5 separate regions of the Homo sapiens genome follow, and all the other regions are linked to region 3. The links are contacts of gene promoters, found by promoter capture Hi-C in blood cells and fetal thymus (Javierre and others, 2016). All regions are on one chromosome and are shown on one strand. The core of a region is centred on a gene start or on the middle of the fragment in contact, and the rest is flanking DNA. Distances in the headings are between cores, read along the strand shown.

Evidence for each region. The method cuts DNA at HindIII sites, captures the fragments that hold promoters and counts their contacts. A CHiCAGO score of 5 or more calls a contact.
Region 1: a contact is called between a fragment that was not itself captured here and the fragment with the promoter of ARID5B in region 3, in 2 of 17 cell types (monocytes and total B cells). The highest score is 6.8, in monocytes.
Region 2: a fragment that was not itself captured here is called in contact with the fragment with the promoter of ARID5B in region 3 in 4 of 17 cell types (neutrophils, non-activated CD4 T cells, activated CD4 T cells and 1 more); the score reaches 6.0 in neutrophils.
Region 4: a fragment that was not itself captured here is called in contact with the fragment with the promoter of ARID5B in region 3 in 17 of 17 cell types (activated CD4 T cells, fetal thymus, neutrophils and 14 more); the score reaches 23.1 in activated CD4 T cells.
Region 5: a fragment that was not itself captured here is called in contact with the fragment with the promoter of ARID5B in region 3 in 1 of 17 cell types (total CD8 T cells); the score reaches 5.7 in total CD8 T cells.

Annotation. Positions count from the first base shown.
Region 1 is chr10:62,164,644-62,167,343 of GRCh38, forward strand. No RefSeq gene overlaps it. Among named protein-coding and RNA genes, the nearest start is that of LINC02621, 93 kb to the right of the region's middle. RefSeq lists an enhancer at 2,064-2,193. The HindIII fragment of the contact is 2,565 bases long and covers 142-2,700 here.
Region 2 is chr10:62,209,626-62,212,325 of GRCh38, forward strand. All of the region lies in intron 9 of RTKN2 (rhotekin 2), which reads right to left. Among named protein-coding and RNA genes, the nearest start is that of LINC02621, 48 kb to the right of the region's middle. The HindIII fragment of the contact is 516 bases long and covers 1,007-1,522 here.
Region 3 is chr10:61,900,300-61,902,999 of GRCh38, forward strand. It overlaps ARID5B (AT-rich interaction domain 5B), which reads left to right and starts at 1,400. Exons shown (of 10, transcript NM_032199.3): 1 at 1,400-1,431; 2 at 1,860-2,114. The coding sequence starts at 1,411. RefSeq lists a silencer at 1-91 and an enhancer at 1,090-1,592. The HindIII fragment of the contact is 3,094 bases long and covers 1-2,184 here.
Region 4 is chr10:62,242,941-62,245,640 of GRCh38, forward strand. All of the region lies in intron 3 of RTKN2 (rhotekin 2), which reads right to left. Among named protein-coding and RNA genes, the nearest start is that of LINC02621, 15 kb to the right of the region's middle. The HindIII fragment of the contact is 7,871 bases long and covers 1-2,700 here.
Region 5 is chr10:62,377,087-62,379,786 of GRCh38, forward strand. The region is part of intron 2 of ZNF365 (zinc finger protein 365); the gene reads left to right. Among named protein-coding and RNA genes, the nearest start is that of ZNF365, 4.1 kb to the left of the region's middle. The HindIII fragment of the contact is 3,368 bases long and covers 1-2,700 here.

The DNA of each region.
Region 1 (2,700 bases), core at 174-2,673, 260 kb after region 3:
ACAACTATGTATCTATAACACTTCAAAAAATAGGGAATATCACATTTAAAGAAGAAATTAGCAAATATTAAAATGTTTGAAAAAATGTCAAGTGAGAAAACTCAAGATATTATTGGCATATGGATGGTAGTGTAAACGTTAAGCTTTTTGGGAGAGAACTCTGGCAGTAGCTATTCTAACAGCAAATGCATATTCCATTTGTTCTAGAAATTACAGGGGGAGTTATCATGTCCCCAATATTCAAGAACCTAGAACGAGTACACATTTCCCCGCTGGGTCAATTCTGCATGTCAGTCTGGTATTCAGACTCCACCATAACACAGGCCCACCTACTCGTTCAGTGCAACTTCCCCACACCAACCTGTCACCCCAAGCCTGTCAGGTCCCAAACAGCACACCTCCCACCCCCAGGCCTTTGCTCATGCTGTTTCATCTTCTCGAAGGACCTTCCCTCCTTGCTTTTCACGTCTCCCTACCTGCTTCAAGGCCCAGCCCAAGCTCCATCTCCACCAGGATGCCAGGTCCTTAGCACAGTCCCTGATATTAAGTAAGGACTCAATAAACGCAATATTTTGTTACTTTAATATTACTAACACTTACACATTTACTCTCTCAGGTTGCTCCCTAATTCTTTGGGGTATGTTTTCTTTACAATTAGGTTGAAAGTTTCTTGAAGACAAGAAATACTTTGGGCTTTCCATGTAAAGACAGTATAGTTTCCAGAGCTTTAACATCACACAGACCTTGGTTGTCCCTCGATCTGCCTTTTTCTTTCCTTTTTTTTTTTTTTTTTTTTGAGACGGAGTCTCGCTCTGTTGCCCAGGCTGGAGTGCAGTGGCGCGACCTCCGCTCACTGCAAGCTCCGCCTCCCAGGTTCACGCCATTCTCCTGTCTCAGCCTCCGGAGTAGCTGGGACTACAGGCGCCCGCCACCACGCCCGGCTAATTTTTTGTATTTTTAGTAAAGACGGGGGTTTCACCATATTAGCCAGGATGGTCTCGATCTCCTGACCTCGTGATCCGCCCGCCTTGGCCTCCCAAAGTGCTGGGATTACAGGCGTGAGCAACCATGCCGGGCCTGATATGCCTTTTTCTACTGATGGTTAGTTATTTCACCTGTAGGCACTAGCCCATAATACCTGCTAAATGCATTGTTACTAGGATGATTACAGCCGTTTACCTGCTCTCTGTATCATGGTTCCCCAGTCCCATCAATGCCAAAATAGAATCAAACTCATGGAAAGTATTCAGCAAACTCTTATTGGAAGTTGATCAGCTAGAGGTCCAAATTGTCACGCATTCTATCAAATACGCTTTAAATGACATTTTGTGTGTGTGGTGCACGTGTGTGTGTGTTTTCACTCATTCATTCATTCATTCATTCATTCATTTAACTAAGAAGAACTCTTCTTTGCCTTTAAGTGGGCTAGTGACTATTCTCAGTTTAGAACTAGCCAAAGAATCAATCTTGACCCAGTTGCTAGGAAACCCTGTCTTTGGAAAGAAGTTAAGAATCAATTTCCCCATGCTTTAAAGAACATGTATTTAAGTAAATTACTTCCTCAGAAATATTGATTCATTCCAAAAGCATTTAAATAATATGAAAAACAAGAGGGTTTTTATGTGGAAGCTGTATCTTGACAGTAAAGTAGATGTGCACTTAAGAAAATATATTTACACAGATAATCTACATCTTGTTCAAGAGAGAAAATAGACTTTAATGTAGTAATAGGACTATTTATGTAATGAACTCTCATGGGCTCTTGCATAAATCATGATTCCTGGGTTGTGTGAATGTTTTTATGTGCCTTTGTGAACTTTCATAAGACTTTGGTTATGTGATTATATCAAAGGCTGAATTTATATTAGCAAATGAAGCATTGTGAAGACATGAAGACATTTTCTAATGGAAACATCATAACCAGAAGCACATTTTCCCAAAAGATGTGTTTTGAAAAATGCTAAATCATTTTAATGGTCTCAATGTCTTGCAAAGGATTCTCTTGGTCAGCAGCTGGCTTCACATGCAATCTCGGACATCAGCAAGCCCTGCTCCAAAGAGGGATGCCAGCCAGCCTGTGAAATGTTTCTGCAAGAACTTTTGGCTGCCTTAACCGCCTAAAGCAAATGTTTGTTTGCTGCAGTACGAGAATCAAATGCTTTTGTGTGAAAACACTTGCTAGAGAAACAAATGTTTGTTTTGGTAATCGACATTTGGACTGTTGGAACATTACCACTTAAGATATTGGTTTGAGAAATATACATTTAATTTGGAAAGCACCAGTCAGGATCAAGCATGTAACACAAATCTAGGCTGTAAGGAAATGAGGTTGAAATTGGACCCAACATTTTCACTTCCCCTTGTCAGTTCTGACTAAGAAAATGGTTCCTTGATTTACATATTGCCTTATAATGTTACTGAGCAGCAGCATAAAAGAAAAAAAACTGATTTACTTCCTTCTGGAAGAGTATGACTTATAAATTATCAAAGAGAGCAGCAAGAGTGTATTTATCTAGTATTAATATTTAAATGCCATTTTCCTATTGAATGTACCACATGCTCCATATTAGTCTTTTAGATTAGACTTAGTACAAATTGATGTTTCCTAAATGGAAGATTTCTCCTTACAGTTCACTTTTGATTATCCATGCTAACTGGCAGGAGGAAAGGTACAGACACTCCAAAACAGCAGGAGATACA
Region 2 (2,700 bases), core at 15-2,514, 310 kb after region 3:
CTCCGATAGGCCTCAGAGTGTGTTGTTACCCTCTATATGTCCATGTGTTCTCATCATTTAGCTCTCACTTATAAGTGAGAAAATGTGGTATTTGGTTTTCTGTTCCTGTGTTAGTTTGCTAAGGATAATGTCCTCCAGCTCCATCTATGTCCTTGCAAAGGACATGATCTAGTTCATTTTTATGGCTGCAGAGCATTCCATGGTGTATGTGTACCACATTTTCTTGATCCAGCCCACCACTGATGGGCATTTAGGTTGATTCCATGTCTTTGCTACTGTGAATGGTGCTGCAATGAAAATATGTGTGCATGTGTCTTTATAATAGAATGATTTATATTCTTTTGGGTATATACCCAGTAATGGGATTGCTGGGTCGAATGGTATCTGTCTTTAGGTCTTTGAGGAATCAACACACTGTCTTTCACAATGGCTGAACTAATTTACACCCCCACCAACAATGTATGAGCATTCCTTTTTCTAAAGAGACTTAAAAGACCTAATCAATCAACCATAATATGTGGCCCTTATTTGGATCCTAACTCAAAAACTTACAAAAATTGAGACTAGGGATCTTAAAGACTGCCTGGATTTTTAACGATATATTAACTACATATAATTATATCTACATATGACAACTTATATATAAAACCATAAATTTTCTTAAGTGTGACAATTGGAATATTTACAAGTAAAATGATATGGTCTCTAGGATTTGCTTCAAAATATATCTAATGTGGGGGCAATGTGTGAGAGTACACATGGGTTCATTTATACTATTCTATGTATAAATTACCTTGAATTTTTTTCCAAAGAAAATAATTAAAAAATAAAATACAAACACAAAAACCAAAGTCAGTCTATTATTAATGCCTCTTTCTTGGCTGTAATGCAGATATCTCACATCTTCCTTACAAACATGCTGTAAAGATAAATGAGTTATTTGAAAAGTGCTTCGTCTGAAGTCCTGTTAATCAGCAATGAAGACAAAATGTTGGTGCTAAAAACAAGCTTTAGACTTTATATATACTCTAATGACAAAAAAGGATATCTTCATGTATACGACAAGGAATGTTTGAAATATGTAATGCATAGCTGTAAGTTAAACCAACCATGAGGTATGATTAGTATCAGTTTAATATAATTATTTTAAATTTATATTAATTAAATCAGATGTAAACTCCTACAGGAAAATGTTTGAAAAATTATTTTTGCTATATTTACTTTTAAAAATCTGAATAGTTGATATGATTAGATATTAAGGAAACTAATATAATTGGATTAAAATCCCATGTGCTTCATAATAATTTTGCTTTCTAGGTTCTATGATAAATATAATAGTTAAAAGTATTTTCAAAACAATTTATCCAAAGTCTACTACACTAAATAGTGTTATTGACTTGTTTAGTACAGATTTTATTAAAATGAATGATGTATATAATATTTAAAACAAGAAAAGGCTTGATCTCAAAGACTCACACTTTTTTTTAACCGTCACACCCCTCACCATATTGACAATGGATAAAGCTTTAGTTAACAAAATGCTTTCTATAATGTGTAGGAAATTCAGTTAAGTACCTGTTATTGAGAATGTCTTGCTCAAGAACATTCTTGTGAAGTTTTCTGAATTTGAAGCAATCACTTTGAAGTAAATCACCCTTTCAAATTTGGATTGACAATGGGAGGGGAATAGCTCTTAGGCTTTTCTTCCCTTAATGTGACTATTTCCACAGATGGCTCCCTATGAAAATTAATGAACTAACTTAGCCTTACAAGAAATGCCATTTAGAAGGACAAGAATTATAGCTTGAGAACAGATCCTGTGATCTAAATAACAGAACTATTATTTATATACCTTAGCAATTGTGAAATTTATGTTTTCAAATAATTTTTAAGTAGCATTAAGGAAAATTATTTTCATGAGAAAAGAAGAAAGACAATCAAAAGACAAAAAACTCTGATTTGTATTTAATGTTTAACATTATTAAGCTTAAAGATCTTAGAGACCATTAGAAATATACTAAAAACTAAAAGAGAAACACTATTCTTTTTTCTTGAGATGGAGTCTCACTCTGTCACCCAGGCTGGAGTGCAGTGGCACAATCTCGGCTCACTGCAACCTCCACCTCCCAAGTTCAAGCAATTATCCTGCCTTACTTAGCCTCCCGAGTAACTGGGACTACAGGCGTGTGCCCCCATGCCTGGCTAATTTTTTGTGTTTTTAGTAGAGATGAGGTTTCACCCTGTTATCCAGGATGGTCTTGATCTCCTGATCTCCTGATCCGCCCGTGCTGACCTCCCAAAGTGCTGGGATTACAGGCGTGAGCTACCGCACCCAGCCGAGGAACACTATTCTTAAAAGTTTTACTTGATCCTTACCTGCTGTATCAGAAAATACCAAACTGGTTTTTATCCTTTGTTTATTTAAGAATACATTGTTCGAGACCACCCTGGGCAACATGGTGAAACTCCATCTCTACTTAAAAAAAAAATATATATATATGGGGTAATTAAAACTTTTAGGTAAATAATAGTTATGGCCAGTAGCTAGCTGTTTTGTAGGCACTACCAACAGGGCACAGCGAAAACTTCAAAAATTAGCCGGGCATGGTGGTAGGTGCCTATAATCCCAGCTACTCAGGAGGCTGAGGCAGGAGAATAGCTGGAACCTGGGAGGTGGAGGTTGCAGTGAGCCAAGATGGC
Region 3 (2,700 bases), core at 150-2,649:
GGGTGGGGGAACGTGGGGGAAGCGAGTACACCATTTTAAATCAACACTGCGAAAATGCAATCTAGCCTGGCGGAGGACCGGCAGCTGGGTCGGAGCTTGCGAGGGCTTTGCAGTCTCTGCCTGTTCCTTGTTCTGTCGCTCTTAAGTTTCTCTGTGTTTGCATAATAGCCGTGCATGCAAACCTCGCAATGCTCCAGGGCTCCAGAACAATAAATATACACATTTAAAGCCTTTATTGTCTTACGGTTCATGCCCCCGGTTTTCAACAGCTTAATTTCTGGTTGTATTTAACTAGTTTGCAAATGGATTTTTTCAGTTTCAAACTATTATTGAGGAAGCTCCCCTCCCTTTTTTGGCGGGGGAGGGGATGGGGGTGGGGTAGGAGTCGGTATATTATTCCTGTAGCGCTGGGTTATATAAACACATTATCATTTGAGAGCGCCCTTGGCGTCCATCAGCATTGTAAACACGTACTAGTGTATATACTTCAAAATTAAAGAATGCACACGCAGAACCGGGAGCCTGAATTCATATTCTGAGCAGACTCGCTTCTCGCATTTATTGATTTATCATGCATCGTTTATTGTTCCAGTCCCTAAATGCAGTCGCTGTCCGTTCAATATTGTTTGCGAAATCCTAAGATGTGTGTGCACTGCTCACTTGTCTCTTTTTTTTTTGCTGAGTATTTTTTTGCGAAGCGAACAAATGCATTAATATTTATATGTTTATATAATCGATAACCCACTTTTCCCTTCCATGTAAATAGGCATCAAAAGATAATTTAACAGATTAGTTCTCGAAAACATGGCAGTGAGGAAGCGTAATTTAACTATCAAACAAATCTACATGTCTAATAACAGCAAATCTGCTAAGAAGCATTAGAAAGAGGAGCAGCGCCCCGGAATCTCTGCAGGAAATGTTCTTTATATTAGACATATACAAGCAGGTCCTGTCAGATGCACAGTGGAGCTCGCTACCCCTCCTCTCCTCCAAAAATCTCATCAGACGATATCCCAGACAGGAGCGGTTAGAGAGAGAGGAATCACATCTCCACACAGTTTTAGGGTGCTTTTTATTTTTACAAATCTTCTTGTGTGTTTTTTGCCTTGATCCATCCTCTTCCCGCCGAGATCGTATGGCGCCTTTCTCTCGATTATGAATTTGATCAATCCATCTTTGGAAGAAAACCCACATAGTTTTTTCAGGAGCTGAAAATTGAGTCGTTATAGAAATATTAGGACATATTTTCAATCATTTCGGTGCCCGAAGGGAGGCAAGAGCTCAGTTTTATATTGAGACATTACGCCGGCTGAAGGCAGAGAATGCGTTTCCCTGCCAGGACCTGATGCAATCCATTCAAGCCAACAAGTTTGGAGAGAATGTTGAGTTCAATCAATTCAGAACGTCGAGATGGAGCCCAACTCACTCCAGGTATTTCGCTCTCCTCCGCTCCTCCGATCCCGGCACCCCCCGGCACCCCCCAACCCCCCAGCTCACCCACACCTCTGCACCCACCCACACCCCCCACAAACTTTTCACCAAACTTTTACCCTCTGCATCCCCCAAAATCATTTTTATTGTTTAAAAAAATCCCTGCACTGATCATACATACATAATGTAATTTTACCGCCTCAAATGGGGAGGTGGGTAGAAGTGGCGGTGGGGGGCCCTGAGTTTTTTTTTTTTTTTTTTTAGGGAAGCAGAAAATTTGTGGGTGCTATTATTTTTCCACCCAGCGTTATATCTGTTGGGTCGTCTGTATTAAGAGAGTGGATGTCTGTGTGTAAATGTGTCTGGGAATAGATGTTTGTGCTCTGATGGCTACATTATTTATTTGGTGTTTTTTTCCCCCCCTGCAGTGGGTCGGCTCACCGTGTGGCTTGCACGGACCTTACATTTTCTACAAGGCTTTTCAATTCCACCTTGAAGGCAAACCAAGAATTTTGTCCCTTGGCGACTTTTTCTTTGTAAGATGTACGCCAAAGGATCCGATTTGCATAGCGGAGCTCCAGCTGTTGTGGGAAGAGAGGACCAGCCGGCAACTTTTATCCAGCTCTAAACTTTATTTCCTCCCAGAAGACACTCCCCAGGGCAGAAATAGCGACCATGGCGAGGTGGTAAACCTGTCTGTCCCCCTCTTCTTTCTTTATTATTTTTCCCCCTAGTAATGCTTATTACAGGGCAAGCTTGAAAATACTGTATTCACTTCTGCAGGCAAGCAGGATCGACTCCTTTTTTAAAGGGGTAGCGCCACTAGCTGGGGCTCGAGTATTTTGCCATTGTCAGAGTTTGGCTGTCAGCTTTACAAAGAGGATCCAACTGCTGATTTTAGTCAAGATCAAATAACTTGTTCGAGAAGGGTTTTGTTCAAGGATGTGTGTGTGTGTGTGTGTGTGTGTGTGTATGTGTGTGTGTGTGTTCATTTGCTCTCCTGCTATTGCCTCTTGAACATCACATGCTTTTTATATTTTTTGCCTTTTGAAAATTTACCTTCGTGTCTGGCTCGGTCGTGTCTGGGTGGATTTCTTTCGGTGGGTTTCGATATTGTTCTTTTTTCAAAGTAAGTATTTGATATGTTTAAGAGGGCGGAAATTACGAAATGGAGGCAGAATGAGATCAAAAGCTATTGAGTTGGCAAAGACGTGTTGAATAAAGTGATAAATGACAGGTACTGGAATAATACATTCAAATAACTTGCAG
Region 4 (2,700 bases), core at 168-2,667, 340 kb after region 3:
TATCTTCAAACAGTATTCAATTTATCTATTTATTTACTTTTTAAATTTTATTATTATTATACTTTAAGTTTTAGGGTACATGTGCACGACGTGCAGGTTTGTTACATATGTATACATGTGCCATGCTGGTATGCTGCACCCATTAACTCATCATTTAGCATTAGATATATCTCCTAATGCTATCCCTCCCCCCTCCCCCCACCCCACAACAGTCCCCAGTGTGTGATGTTCCCCTTCCTGTGTCCATGTGTTCTCATTGCTCAATTCCCACCTATGAATTTATTTTCAATAGTTTCATCTTTTATTCTTATTATTTTAGCTAGAACTTCTAAAATTGTTAAATTATATTGGCATAACAGACATTGTAATTTTGTTTTTGATTTTTATGAGAATGCTTTATTGTTTTGTAATTATGACTTGGCTGATATCCTGCCAAAAAGTCCACTTCTTCTTGCTTGACCACAGCTGCTGACTCATTTCATTTCACAACTGTACTTATTCACAGCTGTTCTTGCTCTGTTAGGATTAACAGAGCATTAACTATTTACACTATCATGGGAGGGACATGGATCCTGACTTCCTTTGCTGTACACCCACAACCTGTGGGTCAGCCTTCTTCTATCCCATGCCGAAGAGAGGAGGGTAGATATCAGCTCCACAAGAGGAGAAGCTGGATACCGATTTTCCAGGTAGTCTTGTGCTCTTCAGATAGCAATGGATTTGTAACCCATCAACTCTATTTCTGAATTCAGCTTCCAATGATAGAACTTCCTTCCAGATTCTTGCAAATGGCTCAGTTTCAGTTTACAGTACTCTAACTTTTGTCTTGTTTTATGTCTTCATTGCCATTTTAATGGTAAACTGGGAGAGTCATAATAAGACAGCTGACTTGATGCTATCAAGTCCCAGAAGTCTGTCTATCATTTTCAAAAGTGAAAACTAAGGTACTTGGTGAACTGATTTGGTTTATTCATTAAATTAGTAGTCGGTGACTAAGCTAATTACCACAATATAATTACGGTAAATACTACATTTACATATGGTAAATATTTGATGTTCAGCAGAAATAATAAATTTGTGATTTAGTTTCATAAAGACCTGGCCAGGGAGTGATGTAGCTGGAAACAGAAAACCCAGGTATTTTCTGGCTATCAATGTAATCTCAAAACATTATGACACTTTGTTGCAAATATTCATCTTTACCAAAACAAAGGTCACATTTTCATCCCAATATCAAGAAAAAATGGATTTATAAAGGTGAATTCATTTTTTATTTTGTTTTTACAAACACATACAAGATATAATTAAGTCTAGGCAAAGATGAAAAGACATTACGTAAGTATCCGATTTTCTCAGAGTTTCCGTTCCTTAATTTAAAATTATCTTTTGGAAAGAAGAAACACATGCAGAAATAAGTTCAATTTTTACACTTGAGTAATTGTGGGCAGGAAATAGTTTTTTATTTTATTTTAAATACTTTTACTTGAGCCTCCTTCTAAATGTACAGTTATTTCTAATATTATGAATTGCTACAATCAATAAACTGTTATGAAATGACAATAGATGTTGACTATCATGGCATTTGAGTGTTTAACAGCAACTTAACATATGTCATTTATATACTGAGTGACACTATATTAGAAGCAAGAAATGAAGGATATGTTTAGTTTTTATAAAATCTCAAAGATCTATAGTAATTTATTCACAAAAAATTTATTGCACATAATGAACAATACCACATAAAAATACATGTTTGATAGCAAAAGAATACAAGGATAAAACATGTTTTGTTTTGTATTATAAAGATAAAAACAAATATAAATAACTATAAAACAAGCAACAAATTTTTACATATTCCAGTTATTTTCTGAAGAATATTTTGCTTAGCTGAATGCAATTCTTCAGATTTTGGCCATTTACGTACTTTGTAAAATGTAGGTCTACCGTCCTGTGTGATAATTTTGTTTATCCAGAAAAATATTACTAGAAACAGTTCCTTAGGTGACAGTACCTCAAATGTAGCAGCAGGCTCTCTAGTACAAGACTTTTAGCCAATAACCTAGTGATTACTTAAGGACCAATGGAGGTATATACTATTGTTTCAAAAATGTACTGATAAGAAAATATTTGTAAAAGTGCATTATCTGACTAGTGTACACACGAGTCAGCCATGTATTCATTTCAATCTGTGGCATCTCCAAGCCATTGTCTTTAGCTTCCTGAACACTTTGGAGAAACTGAGACTGCACAGCATAAGTGCCATCTAGTGGTGAAGGGTCTCCTAACTGCATTAGGAATTGAGAGAAAGGAAACATCCTTTCTAGTTGGAACGGTAACAGAGATTATATTATATATAGATAAACAAACAGATATTTAAGAGAATGTAGTTATTTCACAAGCTAATTGGGTGTCAGAAGCATGGGTTATGTTGCCAGGACAAGGAGAGAAATGTCTGCTAAAGGCGACAGCTTATGTTTAGGAGTAATAGAAGATATGACTAGAAAAAAAATTGGGTCAAAATGGAAGACTGGAGAAAAATGTTTGGTCTTTACACTACAGGCAATGAAGAGCAGCCATCCATCCAAGAGTCACTGAGCAATTACTATGAGCCAAGCACCATGCTAGCTTCTGGGTGTAAAGTGATGACCAAAATAAACATGGTACCAAAACCTCATGGAACTTCTGACCTAGACAAAACAT
Region 5 (2,700 bases), core at 3-2,502, 480 kb after region 3:
GCTTTGATATCATTTACCCTCTGTGTGCACGGTCTGCAACCTAGCAGCATTAAAGTCAAATATCTAATTCCTTCTCAACTGGGAATTTGTAAACCACAGACTATGCTTTTAGAGAGAAGACTAGCACAGCCTAGCCATGGTGGGATCCATTCCTAGCACCAAATGGCGTGCAAGGGTGAGTTGAATGGGAAGGCAGAAAGGGTGAGCTAAGTGAGCTGTTCATTCTTGACAGTCTCCGTATTATAAAGTCAATGCAAGATGCTGTCTTAAGTTCAAAAACATTCCTCCAGTATAAATAAGTTTGGTTTATTTGCCATTTTGTATTATCTGCCCAGGTTAATTAAATGTTAGTAGCTGAGAATCCATTTAATTTAATTTATATTTGGGAGAAGCAGACATTAGGGCACCCAGAGGAAAGACTTTCTGATATTGCTATACTTCTATGATTTAAGTTTGAGACTTGACTTTTTGGCAAATGATGTATTTTTTTTTGTTATATTTAAGTTTTGCCCACTTGCAAAGAGTTGAGATTGGTTTTCACAAGTTATAGATCATAGAAGCTATTGCTTGAGAAATCATCATACTTAGAGAAGCATTTCTTTATCAGTAAGTATAGATTTAACCCAAACTAGAAAAGTGTACATTACAAGTCAGTGTATTTCCCAAATGCAGAATGTCAGATTTCATTTTAAATAGAGGTTTAGAAATTCATGGAATCAAAGGACATTAAAATTGATGGAGTAAAACATCCTAAAAGGTAGGTTTCCAAATAATTTGAGTTCTATTATAGAGATTGATTTAATTTCATCTTTTCTTTGCCCTCTGGCACTCTTCTATTTTGTGTTGTCTCTTAAAATGTAATAATTAGAACTTCCTGAGACACTCCATAGATTAAAGAGATCATTACTTGCTATCACTTAAATGCTTACGTTCTACCTTGAGGGGAAGCCTAGACATTTTTTGTTCAGGCGAGACATTTTTTAAATTACGTAGTTAGGATGGATTTGAATCAGCCTCTGACTTACTTTGCTCCTAGGGAAATAATCTCTAATGAAAAATGTTTCCCTTTTGGTTTCTGGTGTTTCCTGGTGGGAAGTTAGTGTCTAGACCCGTTAATGGCCACCAGAGTGACCCGCACTGTGCTGTTGAAAAAAGGGCAGATGTGGTTACTCTATGCGTAAAGAAAGGCCTAGAATTAAATTTGAACATTTTTGCTTCATTCAAGAGCAGTGAGTTTAAAAGGCAACAAAATTAATTTTTTGAACTTATTTATTTGTTGTATTTTACTAATTAATTACACGAGTAATAATGAACATGAGATCTGGGGTAGTAGTTGCCTGGAGTGATGGGTTCAAGAATGCTTAATTGTTAAAAATATCTGTCTAAATAAAAGTGGGCTATGCATGGGTCAGTTACATGTTATGGTTAATCCAAGGCTGCCACCTGAGCACCAACTGAAAAACTAAGACATGTTAAAACAGGAAAAACTTGAATAGGAGAGAATTATATGTGTAAAAGTAGCCTCTCCAATCCAAGCACATCCTATCCTGTCCTTCAGAGACAGCCACTGTTAAGTTCCGTAAATGTCCTTCCAGACCTTTCCTGTGTGCCTGCAATCGTACACACACAGATTCCATTTTTCTAAATGAAATTGTGACACATACTGTTCTGCCAATTGCACGCTGAATTGTTTTTGTTTTTAATATAATAGATTTCAGGCATCTTTTGTTTACTAAGTACAGAACTATACTACTCTTTTTGACTGTTGTGTAGTATTCCATGGTATGGATGCATCATGATGCATTTAACCAGTTTGTTATTGATGAATATATAGTTTTATTCCATTTTCCTAGTATTAGAAATAGTGCCTTGGTTATTATCCTTGTACATGTTTGTTCACATTTTTGTGAGTATGCCTGAGGATAAATTACGAGTTGATTTTTTTTTTTTTTTTGAGACAGAGTCTCACTTTGTCACCCAGGCTGGAGTGCAATGGCATGACGTCAGCTCACTGCAACCTCTGCCTCCTGGGTTCAAGCAATTCTCCTGCCTCAGCCTCCCAAGTAGCTGGGGTTACAGGCGCCCACCACTGCACCCAGCTATTTTTTTGTATTTTTAGTAGAGACGGGGTTTCGCCATGTTGGCCAGGCTGGTCTCGAACTTCTGACCTCAGATGATCTACTGGTCTTGGCCTCCCAAAGTGCTGGGATTATAGTTGTAAGCCACGGTACCCAGCCACAAGGTGATTTTTGTATGTCATTTCTGGACTAATAGAAAAAAGCAATGATATTTTAAAAAAAGAAAACAAAGTGTTTTAAATGAAAGCGCAGTGAAATTGCCTTAAACTTTTAAACATAAACAAAGTCTTTTTTTTTTTTAAACGTTCATTTGGGCCAGTCCCATCAGTTTCTGTATTCAGGCCTCAAATAATCACTCTTTCTGTACATAAAGTGGGACTGAAAGAGTCTTGTTTCCAGGGAGGACACTGGAGCTCTTGGTCTAAGAATGGGACTGTGGACAGCACCCTCAGTGTCTGCAGCGTCTGGCCTCCCCACCCCCGCACCCCTGCCCTCTGAATGGGGATGCAGAGGGAGCTGCCCACCTGTCACACTGTTAATACTGGGTTGATTTGACTGCATCTGCCTGGCTGGGTGGTGGGTGCATCTTCCATCCTAACCACCACCTCAGAGAGCTGTTGCT